Linked DNA regions of Homo sapiens: region 2 is linked to region 1. The links are contacts of gene promoters, found by promoter capture Hi-C in blood cells and fetal thymus (Javierre and others, 2016). All regions are on one chromosome and are shown on one strand. The core of a region is centred on a gene start or on the middle of the fragment in contact, and the rest is flanking DNA. Distances in the headings are between cores, read along the strand shown.

Region 1 (6,104 bases), core at 1,876-4,375:
ATACCTGCACACCTGAAATTCCACCTCATTCCCACCTGTTTCCTAGCAGGGCTTCCCTGAGGGCAGATGGAAAGGCCACTCCAAAGCTGCCAGGAGGGAGATTCCTATTTTTTCCTGGCGTAAAAGGGCAAGCAGTGGGGGAGCTGCTGACAGCGGGAAATGCCAGCGTCCTCCGGGGTTTCACATTCCAGAAGCCAAGATCTGCCAGCCCTGCCCGGGAGCCCTGGGAACATCAGACCTGGGTGTCTTCCAGGAGTGTCTGTGAACAGAGCCTTCCTGCCCTTCCCAGAGGGGCCAGGCCTAGGGAGTTTGGCAGCCCTTGGGTAGGAGGTCAGGAGACCTGGGTCCTGGCCCAGCCTGTGTCACTGACAACCAGCAGCAGAACCTCAGCCCGTGTCCTGCTTGGATCCAGGAAGTGGGTGAGAGAATGATGGTGATGGTCGTTTGAGGTCAGGGTTTACATTTACTGTCCAGACACCTGGGATCTTCTCCAGACACTTGAGGACAGGCTTCCACTGGGAAATCCTGGTCCCACCTCACACATCTGGGTCCCCAGGCAGAAGACAGACCCATGCCCAGACGTGGACGCTCCAGAGTGGGCATGTTAGGAAGGGGGACTCCGAGGGATTGGTGGCGGGATTGGACATGGCTGTGTGCACAGACTCTTCTGACACCTTAGGAAGGTGCAGGGACAGGGTTTGAACGCAGGGCTGACTGACCCTAAAGCCTCCTCATGTCTAATTGGGGGCTCTTAGTGTCCAGGGAGCCCTGGACGGGTGCCCACTGGCCTCACACTGTCCCAGCCTCCGAGGCCTCCATGATCTGCTAAAATCTCCCTCTACCTTCCAGATGCTGCATTGACTCAGCTGCTCTGAGAGGCCAGGAAGGAGCAGCTGGACTCCTCCCTCCTCAGAGGTGCCCACCTTGCCCCTGCCCTGGGGAAGGTGCTCCACTCTCTCACTCTGGCTCATATGCAGGCAGCCTTGCCTCTTCTTGGTAGAGACAGTAAGACCAGTGCAGGGCTCCACTGCAGCCTCCCAGAAAATGCCTGGAACCAAGGACCTGAGAACTCTACCCCTTTATGGAAGACATCAAAGGGGAGACATGTCAGTGGCTCTTAGAGAAGAAGGAGATGATCCTGGAGGCTTCTGTGCTCCCAAGTGTCCTCACCATTTGGCTGTGACTCCCTCCAGAAACTAGATATCTAGTTCTAGATATGTGCTATGCTATCATATAATAATATCATACGATAGAACAATATAATAATATTCTATCATTACTTGGAATATACACAGTCCCAATAAGAGGGTCCTAAACAGGCTGGGCGCAGTGGCTCACACCTGTAATCACAGCACTTTGGGAGGCTGAGGTGAGCAGATCACTTGCGGTCAGAAGTTCAAGACCAGCCTGGCAAATACGGTAAAACCCCATCTCTATGGAGAATACACAAATTAGCCGGGTGTGTTGGCGGGCATCTGTAATCCCAGCTACTCAGAGACTGAGGCAGGAGAATCACTTGAACCTGGCAGGCAGAGGTTGCAGTGAGCCAAGATCGTGCAACTGCACTCCAGCCTGGGCAACTGAACAAGGCTTCATCTCAAAAAAATAAATAATTTTTTTTAAAGTGTCATAAACAGTTGAGCACAGCATTCTGTTGAATGCACACTGTCCCATTTTCTAACCCATTTCTTCACTTAAAAATAACATTGTTTATGCCCAAGTAAATTGATTTTCCATGCTACTAGCACATCCTAATCTGTGTCCTAGAAAACACTGCTGTACCCCACAGCAGCAAGGAACAGAGGCCAAGGGAGCAGACAGGGAGATGGTGCTGGAAGCAGGGTCTGCTCTGTCGAGGGAGAAGGTGGGTGCTGAGCACTCTGGTATTTATTGAAGTCATTTCTCTGCAGCCTCTTCCTGTGTCTCCTGCCTCCAGAGAGAAGCCCCTATCCGTGCTCCCCAGGAACACAGATGCAGGATCTTCCACACACACAAATCTAACCACATCCATGCCCTGCTAGGAGCCAGCCATGGTGCCTAGAGGGTGACAGGTCACCTTGCCTGGCCCGGAGGAGAACGGCTTGTCCATGCCATGTGTGGCCTGTGAGCTTGAGCGGAGGAATTCCTGCAGAAGCTGGGCAGGGGTAGGGGGGCACAGAACTGACCCAAAACAGCTCCTTCCCCTCTGTCCTCACATCCTGACCCCAAGATGGCTCTTCTCAGGGAAAATCACAACCCAACCCTCTGAAAAAGCACATTAAGGAAAAACACCTTTGAGAATCTCAGGGGGGGATGTGGAATTTCTCCACCAGAACTTCACAGTGATAATGACACCAAACACAAGAACGACAATAACCAAAATCAGGAGTTTTATTCTCCTACCTTCTCTCTCTCTCTCTCTCCTCTCACTGTCATGAACGTCACGAAGACACTGACTTTGCGTTTTCTACTCAGCACTGCATCACTGGTGTCTGACACGAAGCCTGGGACATGTAGGCTCCCAAGTGGACCTGTCCTGGGTAAATGACCATTAATGAGACAGAGAAGGAGATGAAGAGCCCCCAGAGGAGTGTTGAGTCCCAGGGGTCCCGCCAGCTCCACTCCCACCTTCCAAACCTGTGAAAGTCAGGTGCCTGAGTCACACAGTCTCTCCCACCTGAATGCCATGAGCTGCAGGTGACTGAGAAGTTACTGGATTCTTGACCATGTGTTTCGGTTGTGAGGTTGGGACCTAATGGGACCCTTTGAAATGATGTCATGGGTTAGCAATGTCCCAAGGAAACTGAGGAAAGTCATAGCTCAGTAGGATCCTGTGGAATCGCTGTGTGGACATGTGAGTGTCGGAGAGTGTTAATGCCAGGAGCATCCTGAACCTTCCTATTTTCCAGAGGACTCAGTGTGGGGGACGATTGGGGCACATAGCACAGAGAAGGTGGAGGGTGTACCGCTTCTCTCCTGATTACAAAGGTGAGATCAAAGCTACAATGACACGTACCCTGCCTGGCACCTCTCCTGCCCAAGGACCCAGCCTGTCTCTGCAGGACTTGCAGGAGGGCAGGAAATGCCATGACATCACCAGCTCCACTAGAAATATGGGATAAAAGGAGTGGCTGAGATCTGCTGATCCCCTCCTCACTCCACTGCAACCACCCAGAGCCATGGCTCCCCGAGGCTGCATCGTAGGTAAGGAGGACAGGACCCCATTCCCACCTGAGCCCATCTCCAATCTCAGCCACCACCAGGGCTCTCTCCCTACCCCAAACTACACCTCATCCCTGTTCCCATGCCCAGCCAAATCTCCAGGCGTGAATTGCTCACAGCAATTCCCCATCCATAGTGCCCAGATCAGCCCCATCCACAGCCCTGTTTCAGTCCCTGAGCTGCTCAAAGCCATACCGAGCCCTGGTTCCACCCAGTCTTCTTCTAAATGTCAGTGCCAGTCATATCTGTGGCTGTCCACTCACCCCATCTTCCCTTTCCCTTTCCCACAGCTGTCTTTGCCATTTTCTGCATCTCCAGGCTCCTCTGCTCACACGGAGCCCCAGGTGAGCCCAGGAGTGTTTGGGAAGCTGGAGGAGGGGTACACCTTCCAGGGGACCCCAGGCTGGGACCCACCTGCCACTACCTCCTGGATCTCACCAGCTCTGTCTCCTCCAGTGGCCCCCATGACTCCTTACCTGATGCTGTGCCAGCCACACAAGAGATGTGGGGACAAGTTCTACGACCCCCTGCAGCACTGTTGCTATGATGATGCCGTCGTGCCCTTGGCCAGGACCCAGACGTGTGGAAACTGCACCTTCAGAGTCTGCTTTGAGCAGTGCTGCCCCTGGACCTTCATGGTGAAGCTGATAAACCAGAACTGCGACTCAGCCCGGACCTCGGATGACAGGCTTTGTCGCAGGTGAGTCCTGTCCCCTCCGTGGGATTGTGGGTGCAGGGTAGCTGCATGCCTGTTCTGCCCTGGGTGGAGCCCCCATTCTCCTTGTCTCCCTGTCTCTGCCCCCTGCTTCTATTCAATCCACCTCTCCCTTTCCCTACACCTGTGTCTCCATCCATTTTTATTTCCCTCTCAGAATCTCACTCTCTCTACCCCGCTGTCCTCTCCTCCTGGCTCTCCTGTCCTCATTTCTGCCCATGTTCAGTCTCGCCCCCATCTCTGGCCATCTCTGTCCCGCTCAGTGTCTCTCTCTGTCACTATCTCCAGTGTCAGCTAATGGAACATCAGGGGAACGATGACTCCTGGATTCTCCTTCCTGGGTGGGCCTGGAGAAAGAGGCTGGTGTTACCTGAGATCTGGGATGCTGAGTGGCTGTTTGGGGGCCAGAGAAACACACACTCAACTGCCCACTTCATTCTGTGACCTGTCTGAGGCCCACCCTGCAGCTGCCCTGAGGAGGCCCACAGGTCCCCTTCTAGAATTCTGGACAGCATGAGATGCGTGTGCTGATGGGGGCCCAGGGACTCTGAACCCTCCTGATGACCCCTATGGCCAACATCAACCCGGCACCACCCCAAGGCTGGCTGGGGAACCCTTCACCCTTCTGTGAGATTTTCCATCATCTCAAGTTCTCTTCTATCCAGGAGCAAAGCACAGGATCATAATAAATTTATGTACTTTATAAATGAATGCTGTAGAATTCATGAATTAGAGAGCTTGGACTGTTGAAAGGGGTCACAGAGGGTGACGTGGGGCCCCTTCTCTCTGTCACCCTGAGGCATCTGGGCCTTTCCATTTGTTCTGTTCGTGCACACACTTATTTTCTCTTTTTCCATTTATTTTTAAATTTATTATTTTGTTATTTGTGCTCGGTGACTAGGACCCTGGCCGCACCTGGGACAGGGGCCACCCTCCTACACCAGCCTCCACCACCCCATGGCTCCCTGAACCCAGTCACAACATCGGGAGCAGCCCAGGTGGGGTGGGGAGGAGGTGGGGATCGCGAGAGGGCTTCGGAGAGGCACTCCCTCTCCCACCAGTTCTGGGACAGAACAGGACCCGGCTGTTTGTTCTTGATGTACGTTAAGGAGATGCAGACAGACTGGGAAAGAACGGAGGTTCTTTCTCCAACTGGCTATGGGGAGAAGGTCAGAGTAGCTTACCAGACCAACTCAAAGCTACAAACTTCTTTTTCTAGTGCTTATATGCATTCTAAGCTCCACGCCTATGTGCGGAGTGCACCTGCAAGACAGCGTGTTTCATTCTTATCAATATCTAATCTTTAACTAGTGTCCAGGGTCTGGAAAGCTTTCTCCAGAGTCTTGGAAAGTTTCTTAATCTTAAATGGACCCCAGTATGAGGAATATGTGGAAGAATGCTATTATTATTTGATCAGATTTTAGGGTCTGAGAAAACCCAGCTGGGGTTTTAATGGGCTTGTTTTCTCATTCCCGCCCTCATCCCCAGGCACTAGTTTATCCAGTTCTATAATGTTTAAGGTATGCATTCATCAAAAATAAAGTTTAGTGGAAACTGACTCTTCTGGTCGCTAACAGAAACCTGATCTGCCACACACCCATCCCAGGCACGCGTCCCCTGGGATCGTGGAAAACCCACTGGGCAGGTCCAACGCCCAGAGATGCCACACTTAGTCTGACTTTGGGCCAAAGCTGGAGCCTGAGAGGGAGTGGGTGGGGCGGGGTGTGGAGGATGTGGGCTATGGAGGAGCCCTCGGGTTTGGAAGGAGGAAGCAAAGGCTGGCCAAGGCACCTGAAGCACATTCTTCAGGCCCTGTGCCAGGGACAAACCCTCGTGGCCAGTGCTGATGTGGAATAGATCGCAGGGAGGGGGCCACGCTGCTGCTTACCCAACCCAGAAGCAGGTTCCTTAGGGAGCGTTCAGCCCTAGGGTCTCCACCAACCTGGATTCCCCAAAGTCAAAGAAGCCACCACCTTTCTGGGTCCTGTTTCTCAGGGCCAGGGGGTCTGCACAGGGCCTGCGTCCCTGGGCCTCAGTCATCCGAGGCCAACCCAGGCTCCCGGACTGCCCGATGGCTTCCCTGGGCAGATTCTGACTCAAAGGGTTCCATCATCGCCCCACAGTTGGCAGCCTCGCCTCAGTGGCCCCAGACGGGCCCGGTGGCCAGGTGTCTGCACGTGCGGGAACT
Region 2 (6,104 bases), core at 2,407-4,906, 160 kb before region 1:
AAGCCACAGGGAGCCAGCACCTACCATCTTCTTGAAAGCCTGATGCCAAAGATCTTTAAACATCTTGACACCATATATCAAGGAATCCAGCTGCCAGATAAAATACAAGACTTCTAGTTAAGTTTGAATTTCAGATGAGCAACAAAGAAATATTTAGTGTAAGTATGTCCCAAGTGTTACCCAAAACATACTAAAATGTTTAAATTATCTGAATGTCAAATTTAAGTGGGCATTCTTATGTTTTTATTTGCTAAACTGGCAACCATAACTAGGAACACCCAACTCCCAGCATCCATGAAAGCTCTCTCTACTTTCCTGCAGACTCAAAGCCAAAGAAGTACCAATACTTCTTCAGGGACCAGTGTATTAAGCCACTTTTGCATTGCTATAAGGAAATACCCAAGGCTAGGTAATTTACAGAGAAAAGACGCTTATTTGGCTCATGCTTCTTCAGGCTATATAGGAAGCATGGTGCTGGCATCTGGTTGGCTTCTGGTGAGGCCTCAGTGACCTGTTACTCATGGCAGAATGTGAAGCAGGAGCAAGCATGTCACATGGCTAGAGTGGGAATGAGACTGAGAGGAAGTGTCACACATTTTTAAATGACCAGATCTTGCAAGAACCCACTATTGTGAGGACAGCACCAAGCTATGAGGGATCTTCCCCATGACCCAAACACCTCCTGCCAGGCCCCACCTCCAATACTGGTGATTATATTTCAACATGAGATTTGGAGAGGACATTCAACCTATATCAACCATTTAAATTTAAAGTTGAGGAATGAAAACATTTAAGAGCAAGTAAGCATGAATTATGTTCACCCAATCGTACTCCTAAAACCATCTCAGCTCCTCTCCTTCAGCCAAGGGCATGTCCTCATGTCCAATCTGGTTCTCACTGGAGAGATTTGGGAGTGGGAACTCTGCAATCTTGCTGTGGTCAATAAAAGAACCTCCCAGAGGCTCACAGGGGCTTCAAGCTTCAATCGTAGTCCCCATTTCAGATCCTCTGACACTCTCCCATCCACTCTCCTTGTGCCTGCTTCAAAGCCACAGCAAACAGAAGCCAAACCTTTAGTAAGGATGATCCCAATCTCAATTCCAACCCCAGCCCCAGCATATCCACCTTTGCCTATACCTAACACTACTATCTGGACATCCGCTTTCAGCCCAGGCCCTCGCTGTTTTCCTCATTGCCTCTGTGGCACCTCAGTCCCAGTTTGCCCTCCACCCATCCAGGAAGCTCACTCCCTTCCCTGGATTCTCATCTTGGCTCTTTTATGAGCTTCCTTGCATGCCTTCACCTTCCTGGGTTCCAGAGAGCCCAAGACCAGCTCCCAGGAATAGTGCCCCTACCCCGATGAGCCTGATCCCAGAAGAATTAGCCCCAAAGTAATGCTGAGCTTTAGCCAGAACAAAAGCTAGCCTAGAAAATTCCCCAGGCAGGAAACAGATGACTGCACATAAGTCTCATTGCCGACCCCATTCGTTTCCCACAGGGGCTTGTCTGCATCCTCATCCACGTGTGCTCAGGCTCAGAGTGAGTTTCAGGTGAGGAAAGAGTGATGAACAAGCAGAATGGAGGAGGAATTTGTGGGGTTGCAGGATGGGGCTCTGACAGGGCCCCAGGTTGGCAGCCAGGTTTGTTTCTCTCTGGGACCCACATCTGATCTATCCCTCAGGAAAGAGTCAGTCAGCCAGCCCCCAGGTGTGGAAACCAGATCTGTGACATCATGGAGAACTGCTCCATGGATAAGCCCATGAGTAAGCCCTAGTGCCATTTACCCAGGTGTGGATTCACCTGCTCCTATGCTCCACTTCCAGCAATGATGACAAACATTCTTTGGTCCCTTGGATCAAAAGACTTTGAGTCAAAAGGTTTCAGGTGTGAACTCTGACTGCACCTTCCCCCATAATCAAAGAAGGATCCAGGTAGGAATCCCTGCCATGCTCCAGGCTGAAGCGGGGAGAGAGCAGCAGAAAAGGAATTTCAATAACTGGGTCCTCCCAAGAGGGGACCCTGCTCTGTTCTCCATCTCTCCACCTTTTGTCACAGATGCTCTTCAACCAATTCCGCCACCATGTGTCACCATGTGTCTCTGAACACAAATCTTAAACAATCTCTTTATCTCTCCAGATGAAGAAAGACCCACCAGGGCAGACAGAGCTGATGTTTCCTTGCAGTGGCTTAGACAGTAATCTGAGGTCCTGGGATACAGGGTACATTAAGATATTAAAGACCTCGAGCTCTGAGTGTCGAATCTCATCATGATGGAATCCAACATAAAACAAGACTGAATGCAAACATGATGCTTAATTGTGTGCGGAATTGAAAAAAATAGTTCTCAATTTTTTTGCTTGCAAATTGTGGGATACGTTTACCAGATTTGAACTTTTCCCTTATTTGTCATCCCGCTTTGTTGATTCTGTAACCAGGGGCTTGGGATTCATTTTGGGGATCCCAAAGCCCTTGTTTGTTGAAGGGTTTCAAAGTCTGGTAGGAGGGTGGTGCACACACAGATAGAATTGTTCATCTGTGGGCGGCCTCTGACTCCCTCCCTGGGTAGGCCTCCAGGCCCAATCCTTCCTTCTGAGGAACCGCCGGGAAAGACTTTGATCAAAACAATTAAATGCATTGGGAGCTCAGTCTGAGGCAATTATGTGGTTTCATAGAGGAAGAGGTAGAGATGACTCAGGCATTTCTGGCCCCATGTCAGCCTCAGGGCAATCACATTCGGGATTTTGCAAAAGACACATTCACTCTGAGCACTGGAGACCTACATCTCTTTGTCCAGTTGACTTAAGTTCTCACCAAGTGAATATCTTCATGCTAAAGACAGTTTCATTTGTGATTAGGGACAGGAGAGCATGTTTCCCCTCGGTCCTCTGATTCTGACTGGAGGGGCAGTGCTGAGTTCTGGATCGGGGCTGCTGGCAGTACGTGGGAAAGCTGTCCTATCAGTACTGTATAGAACAGGTGGTCAGAGAAAATGCCTCCCTGGAAAACCTTTTCACATGGTTGAATGTCCCCAGACATGAGAGGGAGTGGAGGACTTTGTTCTAGAGCCCACCTCAGAGGCCAGGCACTGCCAATGCCATGAGCAAAATCTTCCACCTCTTTCCCCCAATTTTCTCTCCATCTGGATTCTGTGTTGCTGAGGTCATTTGCTCTGTCTCTTCCTACCCTCTGTATTCTTCTCTCTCATCTGACTGACTTTTCTCACTCAATTTTCAAATATCACCTAAAATAATAATACAGATAAGAAACAAATGTATTCTAATGAAAATGTTCAGTCTGAGAAGTAAAGATTACATGGTGAGCATTGATAATTTTTATCATGCTTCCTACCCTCCCCAAAGGTAACTGCATTTAAGATGTAGTGTTTGTATTTTTCCATAAATTCTGTATAGTTGAATACATATAAGTCTACATATATGCCACACTTTTCCCTTCTTATAAATAAGATATCATACATCCCCCCCTTGAAGCCCTAAAAGCCCACAGATCACAGATAATTCTCATGGCTGCCTAGATTTCTATTTTATGGATAAATTGTAATTTATTTCATTTGTCTTCTTTTTGAAAATTATGTAGGTTGTTTGCAATATTTCAGCCTTACCCTAAAAATTCTGCAACAAATATTCTTGTATGTACATATTTGGGCACTTTAATTAGAGTGTTTAGTCAACAGCAATAGATGTGAAAATTCTGAAGCAAATTGTGTAAGATGCTCTGAGCCATATGCATAGGGAAAAATCTAAACAATAGATTAGACTAAAGCAATAAACATGAATGAACAGGTTCAGGGTTTCAGTTTTAAGAATTGAAACATATTTTGAATGGCAGCCAGTAAAATGCACTGACTCCAAACACTTCAAACAAGACATTCCTGTTATCAGGAAGGTTAGGAGGGTAACGCTTGTTTTGTTCACTAAGCTGGGTGGACTCATGATTACTGAAGCAATACTCATTTCTGCTTTAGTCTCCTATGTTTGCATCCCATGAAGCTCAAATACGAATTGAAGCAAATCTCTAAGATTTTTTTTTTTTTGCCTTATCTCCTAAAACTTGAGGAATGCATGTGTTCTTAGTGATTCACATCCACGGGACAAAAACTCAAGGAGAAATAAGAGCTGACGTCATGCAAGTCTTGGCTGCTTTTGTTACTATACATTTTCTCTGAGAGTCCAACAGACTTCGGGCTGGAACTTGGCACTGGAGACTCATGTTCGGAATCATAGGGGAACATCTGGCTGTTAATCACTTGCACAATTTAGAACATTTCCTTTACATTGGCTTTAAATTCTAGCCCTTATTTCATTTTGTAGTCTTATTTTCTTTCTTCTGCATGCTCACAATACCAAGCATTAAATGTATTTTAATAACTAAAAAAAAAAAGGAATTTTATTTCTGGTGGTGTTACTAATGGTTGTGTGATTGTGCAGAGTCCAGAAAGCTGCTGACTTAACTACCCATCACCCAGCTCAAAACGCCCAATCCCCTCTTAGGTGAAAAGTGATGACCATACAGATATTTAAAGGAGAAGCACCCTCACTTACAACATCAGAGGGTCAAATCTACAGGCTCATCAGCTGTCCTACATTTTGTCAAAATAAAGCTCCTCTCAAACATGGAGGCACATCGGCAGTTCATGGAGCCAGAAGTACCTACTTCACCCTCTCTCTTACATGGGTGGGCCTGAAGTACTCCTTATCAGGGCATCTGGACTCTATTTTGGGTGTGTGCAAAGTGTTTTGAAGGGTTTTTCTTGGTCGATGTTTTGTATTTGGGGGAAAAATTAATCATCCTCAAATTGAATCGCCTAATCACCAGGTGACCCCAGGTGATGGCATGGCACCATACTCTCCAGAGGTCTGCGATATTTGCCCAGTGGAGTACAGCTCCCAACAAGCCTGCGGTCCTCCATTCATGATGCTCTCTAGAATCCCAAGATGGCGTTTGTTTGCCTGCATGGGATTCACCTTCCATGACTCTCAGGAATCAGGAACTCAAAAGACATGATCCTGTTTTTTTTTTTTTCTTTTTTTCTCTGCCTATGTGTATCAGCTCAGCCAACCTCCTCAATGTGCTTTCCCTCACGCCAGCGGCACACCAGCAAGTCAGCAAAGTTCAGGGGCTCAGTATGCACTGAATGAGGACACAAGTCTTATTTGCCTCTCCCTTGACTATGTTGGGGGTAAGGAGAAGACACAGCCTCTCTGCAAGCACAATACTCTTCCCTGAAAGGCCACCCTCTTTCTGGTTTCCAGTACTCCTCTTATATCACTAGTATCACTAGTTGGTTCTGCTTCTCTCCCATCCAGGGATCTGGAGAAGTTTCATATCAAATAAACATAAACACACGAATAAATGGGTGTGGTCCTGGAACCAAATAAATAATCTTCATTGAAGTGGGGATGGGGAGGTGTAAGACAAAGACAGTAGTGACTTGCATTAGACAGGAGGTAGTGTGAAACCACGACTCCTGAAACTGTAAGCCTGGTCTGCTGATCATGGACACCAGCAGAATGAATTCATAAGTTCAAGTGGTGGAATAATATTTTTACAGAGGTAAAAGAAAATAACAGCCAACAAAGACCTTTCTAAAATAGCCTTCAAAAATGGTAAGGAGGTTGGGCACGGTGGCTCACGCCCGTAATCCCAACACTTTGAGAGGCCAAGACAGGTGGATCACATGAGTCCAGGAGTTTGAGACCAGCAACTCCTGGGCAACATGGTGAAACTCCATCTCTACAAAATAAAAAATTAGCCAGGCATGGTGGCACATGCCTGTAGTCCCAGCTACTCGGGAGTCTGAGGTGGGAGGATGGCTTGAACTTGGAAGGCAGAGGTTGCAGTGAGCTGAGATGACACCACTGCATTCTAGCCTGGGCTACAGAGTGAGACCCTGTCTCAAAACAGAAAAAAATGAAGCTGAGGATTCTCCAACTTACAGCCATTAAGGGCAGTGACTTCAACGAGACTACTTTTCCTGCTATTGACAACAGTAAAACTGGATGAACCAAATGAGGCCACTGTTTTCAGGTGGTGAACGAAGACAGGATAAAATATCAATCTCTGAAAGTAAAGTCACAGAGTGAACA

What was found. Contacts are between HindIII fragments. The CHiCAGO score rates a contact against its expected background, and 5 or more counts as called.
Region 2: a fragment that was not itself captured here is called in contact with the fragment with the promoter of IGFL1 in region 1 in 2 of 17 cell types (M0 macrophages and M1 macrophages); the score reaches 5.8 in M0 macrophages.

Annotation. Positions count from the first base shown.
Region 1 is chr19:46,226,617-46,232,720 of GRCh38, forward strand. It overlaps IGFL1 (IGF like family member 1), which reads left to right and starts at 3,126. Exons shown (of 4, transcript NM_198541.2): 1 at 3,126-3,183; 2 at 3,492-3,545; 3 at 3,658-3,901; 4 at 4,205-4,627. The coding sequence starts at 3,159. The coding sequence ends at 4,214. RefSeq lists an enhancer at 2,474-3,673. The HindIII fragment of the contact is 5,684 bases long and covers 1-5,243 here.
Region 2 is chr19:46,066,108-46,072,211 of GRCh38, forward strand. It overlaps a transcript of IGFL4 not described here. Among named protein-coding and RNA genes, the nearest start is that of IGFL4, 28 kb to the left of the region's middle. The HindIII fragment of the contact is 5,358 bases long and covers 978-6,104 here.